2 separate regions of the Homo sapiens genome follow, and region 1 is linked to region 2. Evidence: promoter capture Hi-C in human tissues and cell types (Jung and others, 2019). All regions are on one chromosome and are shown on one strand. The core of a region is centred on a gene start or on the middle of the fragment in contact, and the rest is flanking DNA. Distances in the headings are between cores, read along the strand shown. Region 1 holds the start of MFSD2A (MFSD2 lysolipid transporter A, lysophospholipid). Region 2 holds the start of PPIE (peptidylprolyl isomerase E).

Region 1 (3,675 bases), core at 210-2,709, 220 kb after region 2:
GTGACTGTGGGAGAGAAGATTTGGGGGCTGCAAGGGAGCTTAGCTAACCAAGCCTGGAGAGGGGAAAAGAGACAGAACAGTGTCACACAGCTTGGAGTAATGGGGCCAGCCATTCCCTTTCCACAGTATTCAGTGCCTCACTTTGGCTCTCTTCTGCTCAGCAATGGCCAAGAGCTGTGTGCCCAGATGGGATCTGCTGGCGTATGAGGGAGCATGGTGTGACCATCCTGGGGCAGATAGACCTTATCTCTCCTCCCTGCAATCAGAGATTTAAAGAAAGGAAGAAGGAGGCTGACATTAAGGAGCACAGGAACCGGGTGGGTAGCCTTTGAGAGTTCCAGCAGCCCCTTCACTAATCAGAGAACTGGAAAGACCGGGGTGACATTGACATAAGGGACTCAGAGGTGGAACTAAAGACTGTTCTTTTCTGGCATCCGTGCCTGCCTTCTGTTCCAAACTAATGCCCTCCCATCTTCTTTTGAGGACCACATTTCTGGGCATTCTCTTTTTCAAAACTTTCCCTGTTTCAACCCTCAGTGCCTCTGGAGCCATGTATCTCCCAGGGCTTCTTGTTGGGAGACACATACACCCCATTCTGCCGTCTGTAATTTATGCTAAGAGGGATAGAGCAGGGCTGTTGAGAGCAACTGCTTTGGTATCGGACAAAACCTTTCAGGCCTGGCTCTGCTACATAACAGTTGCTTCACTTCTCCAAGTTTCCCCTTCCTGTGCTGTAAAATGGGGATAATAATAGTACCACCCTCACTTGGTGGTTTTTGAGGGCCGAAAGAGATCATATTAAGCATGGAGGAAGCTATCCATAAAAAGGCCACTGTTGTCATAGTGTACTAGCGGGCGTAGCCCCGGCTTCTCTCCACGACTTGGGAGCTCCCTTCTGGCAGGGGCAGCCACTGGATTGCCTCATCTTTCTCCCCATTGCCCGGATGCCAAGGGCAGGACGGGGGAATGGTGTGTCTTCGGGGATGAGAGAGAGGCATCAGGAGGGAAAGTGTCAGCGTACGTCCTCTAGGCTTGAAGAAGGAGAGAGGCCCTGACTCCAGATTTTAAAGTGGGCTTCAGAGCCCCTACCTTTCCTAGGCCTGGGGCTCAGAAGTCATGGGTGGTAGGCCCGACTCGGGGAGAGTCGGACCTTGGGGACCTCGGGGACCTCGGGCAGATCGGGGACCCCGGGCAGATCACTTTCAGCCTGGGGCCTCGGTTTCCTCGCGCGTGTCTGGGAGGTCTCGCGGCCTGCTTCTCGGATTGCTAGGAGCCAGCGCAGGCAGATGCCGGTTCCGGGGCTTGGAGAACGTGGCTCGGTGGCACAGAGCCGCCGGGCGAGGCGGGGGCAGGGAGGCGGGCGACGGGATTGGCTGGAGGCGGGGCAGCGGGGCTCGGGGATTGGCCGCAACCGAGAGGGCTGGGCAGAACTATAAGAGGCGCGGAGGGGGCGTGCAGCAGAGTGCGTTCCTCGTCTGCCAGCCGGCTTGGCTAGCGCGCGGCGGCCGTGGCTAAGGCTGCTACGAAGCGAGCTTGGGAGGAGCAGCGGCCTGCGGGGCAGAGGAGCATCCCGTCTACCAGGTCCCAAGCGGCGTGGCCCGCGGGTCATGGCCAAAGGAGAAGGCGCCGAGAGCGGCTCCGCGGCGGGGCTGCTACCCACCAGCATCCTCCAAAGCACTGAACGCCCGGCCCAGGTGAAGGTGAGGGCCCGGCACCCCGCGTGGAGGGCGAGGGGAGGGAGGAGGCGGAAATGGGGGATCAGGGGCGTCCCGGGGTCGGCCTGGTCAGGGGACCATTGGGATAGCCAGGGACAGGAAGCCTACGAGCCAGAGAGGACCTGGGGGTGCCCTGGGACAGGGGGTGACGGAGAAAAGCTGTGGGCGCCCTCGCCCCCCTTTGCTCACCCGCACTCCACGCTCTGCGGAGAGGCTCTGCCGGCAGCCCCATGTGATTCCCCGCTCTGCCTAGCCGGTTTCCATTCTTCCGTGTTGAGCGGCTGGGGCTTGCCGCCCCAAACCCCAGAGATGACCCCAGAAATCTGGGAAACTCCCCTTGGTTCCCCATCTCTCATCCCCTACCTCCCACTCCACCCACCTACTCTTGCGCCTCAACTCTGCTGTTAGGGCCGCTCAAGTTCATTCATAAGAACAAGAGCTCTGCTCTTAAAGGAGCCGCGTCCCTCAGGCATTTGTCTGAATGTGGATGTTCGCGCGGGAACGGTGCTTTGCGCATCGAGACCATCGACCACATCCCCAGCCCTGGGGACTTATTGAAGGACCAAATAAAATGAGGCGGCCCCCTAGGAAAGGATCTCAGGCAATAGATACCTTCGTGGGAGGTGACTGCCTTTTCCTTTTAATTTTATTAACTGATCTTTGGAAGGAGCTGGGTGAGCAATTATGCTGTTACTATGTATGAGTAATATCTACTTTCCCTGGGCAACCCAACCTCCCTAGTGCCCCACCCGGAGAGGGATCAGGCCTGAACCTGGAGGCCTTTCCTCCCGTCTCCAAGGTCCTCTAGGAGCTCAGGGGTGGAGGGCGATGGGTCGGGAAGCTGGAGAGTAGGACAGTTCCTGGGTCCGCCTGAAGCTCTGGCTGCCTATAGTGGTCAGGGATGCTCTGGGATAGGTGGAACAGCTGCGCCTGCAGCCAGCTGGGCCGGGCCCCCGTAGCTCTCTAGAGCTCTCACCAGGAGTAGGCAGGTGGATCCTGTCTCTGAGGCAGGGTGGGAGCCTGGGCTGGGCTCAGGCAGCTCTTGGCAGCAAGCGGATTTTCAGGTTGTGGCAGCTGGTGCCGGGTGGGGACAGGTCGGCTGCTGGAGCATGCTCCCCCTGAAACCTGGAAAGGAGCAGTGCCTGAGGCCTTGGGAGGAGTTCTTTAGGGATGGTGGGCTGATAAGTTTCCTTAGAATCTCCAGGAGGGAGGTGGCTTAGGGGCTACTTTCACACAAGTATGGATTCCCCTTTTCCATGTTCCTAAGAATGGAGAACACCTTTCTTTTGTATAAAGTGGGATCTCGGAGATCGAGACCATGCTGGCTAACATGGTGAAACCCCGTCTCTACTTAAAATACAAAAAATTAGCTGGGTGTGGTAGTGGGTGCCTGTAGTCCCAGCTACTTGGGAGGCTGAGGCAGGAGAATGGCGTGAACCCAGGAGGCGGAGCTTGCAGTGAGCCGAGATGGCACCACTGCACTCCAGCCTGGGCAACAGAGCAAGACTCTGTCTCAAAAAAAAAAAAAAAAAAAAAAAAAAAAAAGGTGGGATCTCCTGGATAGGAACAGGTCAAAGCAGAGTTGTTTGTTCTGGTAGAGCTGGCCAGAGGGATGGTCCTTCCTGTGGAACCTTCTTGGATGGAGGCCAGAACCTTGGGCCTTTCATCTTTTCCTCCTCTTCCCAGAAAGAACCGAAAAAGAAGAAACAACAGTTGTCTGTTTGCAACAAGCTTTGCTATGCACTTGGGGGAGCCCCCTACCAGGTGACGGGCTGTGCCCTGGGTTTCTTCCTTCAGATCTACCTATTGGATGTGGCTCAGGTGAGTGGTCTAAGCCTTCGAGGGCTCCTTCAGCATCCTGAGGTGGGAAAGACTATGCACCCCTGGGTCAGTTCGCTCAGTTTTCCCCATCTGTGAAATGGGACCCCAAATCACTACTTTGCTGCCTCTGAGTCAGTGA
Region 2 (3,264 bases), core at 362-2,861:
TCCCCATAAAGCTTTCTTTACGGACACTGAAATTTTAATTTCACATAATTTTCATGTGCTAAGAAAATATACATATATATTTTGTGAGATGGTGTGTCGCTCTCGTCACCCTGGCTGGAGTGCAACGGCGCGATCTCTGCTCACTGCAACCTCCGCTACCTGGGTTCAAGCGATTCTCCAGCCTCAGCCTCCTGAGTAGCTGCGATTACAGGCGCCCGCTACCACGCCTGGCTAATTTTTGCATTTTTAGTAGAGACGGGGTTTCACCATGTTGGCCAGGCTGCTCTCGAACTCCTGACCTCAGGTGATCCGCCCGCCTCAGCCTCCCAAAGTGCTGGGGCTACAGGCATGAGCCACCACGCCCGGCCAAGAAAATATAGTTTTTTTATTTTTTCCAACTATTTCAAAAGGTAAAATTCATTCTTAGCTCCCAGGTTGTCCAAAAACAGACGCGCAGGATGGCCAAGCACCAGAGTTTATCGTTTGCCCATAATAATCGGGTTGATTCGGCCAAGGTTTCCCTCCCCCAACACGGTGCGCACTGGGAAGCGCGAGGACCACGTCCCTTGGTTTACCACTGCGCACCTCACAAGGCGCCCAGTGCATCCGGGTAGCGGGATGCCGGTTGGACCAACGCGAGGGTGGGCGGGGTCTAAGAGCTAAGCGTTGGGGGCGGGGCGGGACAGTGGGGAAGAGGACGGGTCGAGTGCTGGCTTCCGGCGGAAAAGCGCGCGAGCAAGATGGCCACCACCAAGCGCGTCTTGTACGTGGGTGAGCAGGAGGGGTTGCTAGGCGGAGTCTGAGTGAACGCGACCCCCAAGGGTCGGGGCGTGGGGTGGGACGCATCTCTGAACCAGGAGGACGGCGAGCTGCTGTCAAGGCCGGGTCTCTGGCGGTAGTGCTGGCGATAGCTCTGGCTGTGCTTAAACTCCTTCCAAGGTTTCCCACTGTCCTCAGGAAAAAGTGCAGACTTCTTAGCAGTACGCACTTCTCCAGCTTCTTTGCTTTGCTTCCCGATTCGCTGGGTCTCCCGAAAAATGACCCACTTGCCCCCAAGGTTCAGGTTATTTCACACCTTTGGGCCTCTGCTTTTGCGACTCCCTTGCAGTGAACAGCCTTGCCACACACCTCAGGTGCGTGAACCCGAGACGGAATGATTATTCTGACTTCCTAGCCCGCTGAGCTCCAGCGGGCCCCGAGGAGCGGTAAAGGAGTATTATGGCCCTTCGGATCCTCTCGTTCATTTGTTTTACAAACATTCAGTGCAGCGACGGCTCAGCCCCAGCCCCTGCCATAAAGGAAGGAGTTCCCAGACTAGCCAGAAAAAAAGTGGAATTACCTCAGTAGCACACTTTTGATAAGCGCTGTAGTGAGGATGGATCATGATAATATGGGCCTGGCTGCGGGACAAATGACCCATCCATCTGGAGAAGCGAGGGCAAATTCTGGATGCGGCGATGCCAGAGCTGATGAGCAGGAGTTAGCTACGTAACCGAAGCAGAGGCAAGGCCGTTCACTGCAAGGGAGTCGCAAAGGTGTGAAATAGCCTGACACTTGGGGGCAAGTGGGTCATTATTCGGGAGACCCAGGAAATTAGGAAGCAAAGCAAAAAAGCTGGAGAGGTGGGTACTGCTAAGGAGTTTGCACTTTATCCTGAGGACAGTGGGAAGCCTTTGAAGGAGTGTAAGCGAAAAGTTACGGGTTCAAATTTGCATTTTCCTAAGATCATTCTAGTTGGCTTTGTGGAGTTGATGGAATGGAGGCAGGGAGGTCAGTTGTGAAGCTATTGCAGTAATCCCAGGACTAGATGAGAGTCTGAAAGAAGGGCGAAGAGAGGAATATTTTTCATAAGTATGGGTGGGCAGAGATGAGAGGGGGATGTTTGTTTACCCAAAGAACTGAATGGAAGGGTCCTGTCCCCTGGCTAGCATGCTAACTGGGCTGCAAGGACTTCTGCAAGAGTATGGAGATCAGTGGCTCAGAAGGCCCTTGGCTTATTTGCAGGTGGACTGGCAGAGGAAGTGGACGACAAAGTTCTTCATGCTGCGTTCATTCCTTTTGGAGACATCACAGATATTCAGATTCCTCTGGATTATGAAACAGGTGAGTTAGTGTCTCTCACGTTCAGAATCCTCTTACTAGGAAAATACCTTAAAAAATTAAAGTCACATCACAATTCTAAATATGCATTCTAAATATGGTTAGTATACACTACAGGTAAGTTCAGGAAGGTGTCTGGTGACAGTGATCTCGATGGAGAAGGAATGTTCTGAGGCCATGTGGTTGTGAACTCTGAATACTTTCCAGAGTCTTCAGCTGTTGGGTTGAGATAAGACAGATTTTTCAATAGACCAGTAGGGAGATAGGTTTGAACTACATTGAGATTTGAATGTTGTTTTAATCTACCTGATGGGTACCCCATCCCACCTGCACCTTCTTGCAGCTGTGCTATTAAATGAGGCAGCGGGAAAGCCTAGCCCCATAATGGGGGTGGGTGAGGGCGGGGGTTCTTGGCCTCTGCACCCCTGGGTGGGTTTCCCATCGATTGGTATCACAACCACAGTTCAGTTTTCTGTTTACCTTTGTTGTCATTTTTAAGATTATAGTTTTAGGCCTAGTTTTATCATCAACCTTGCATATGATTGTTAGCAAAGTCTTTAAACTCTCTGGGCCTGGGAAATCTTTATTTGCAAAATGATAAGGTTATGTTGGCTTTCTAAGGGCCTTCTAGTCTCTGAGTTCTATGATAAACATTATTGTGCTTGGTCTTTCTAGTTAGTTCAGCATTTTCCTGAAGATAAAGACTGAGCATCTTTATCAGGTTTTAGGATTCATGCTTTATGCACAGTTGATGCGCAAAATATATATTTAGATAGATAATTGATAGGTCAAATGACTTTATTTTTCTAATTGCTTTGCATGCAATGGTTAAGGTTTTAAGTTTGGCTTTCGTAGAATAATTGAATACTTATCAATTAAAAATACAGTTTACTATTCAGCTATGTCCATTAAAAAAACAAAGTTTATTATTGCTTAAAATATTGTATAAGAAGAATCAAGAATGAGATTCCTTCTTCCTAAATAGTGATTGGATAGAACTTCTGGTGTTTGGATACGACATGTAACTGACTTCACTTTGTGACCATCCTGTTTCTTCCCACTACCCCACATAGTAATTACTTGTTTTTGTTTTTCCATTTTGTAGAAAAGCACCGAGGATTTGCTTTTGTTGAATTTGAGTTGGCAGAGGTGAGAGTCTGTGTT

Evidence for each region. Contacts are between HindIII fragments. The study calls those that stand out against the background at their distance.
Region 1: a contact is called between the fragment with the promoter of MFSD2A here and a fragment that was not itself captured in region 2, in 1 of the 25 tissues and cell types used here (dorsolateral prefrontal cortex).

Annotation. Positions count from the first base shown.
Region 1 is chr1:39,953,686-39,957,360 of GRCh38, forward strand. It overlaps MFSD2A (MFSD2 lysolipid transporter A, lysophospholipid), which reads left to right and starts at 1,460. Exons shown (of 14, transcript NM_032793.5): 1 at 1,460-1,700; 2 at 3,402-3,536. The coding sequence starts at 1,608. RefSeq lists a silencer at 1,282-1,411. The HindIII fragment of the contact is 9,041 bases long and covers 1-3,675 here.
Region 2 is chr1:39,738,161-39,741,424 of GRCh38, forward strand. It overlaps PPIE (peptidylprolyl isomerase E), which reads left to right and starts at 722. Exons shown (of 10, transcript NM_006112.4): 1 at 722-771; 2 at 2,005-2,103; 3 at 3,206-3,249. The coding sequence starts at 741. RefSeq lists an enhancer at 770-979. The HindIII fragment of the contact is 4,843 bases long and covers 1-3,264 here.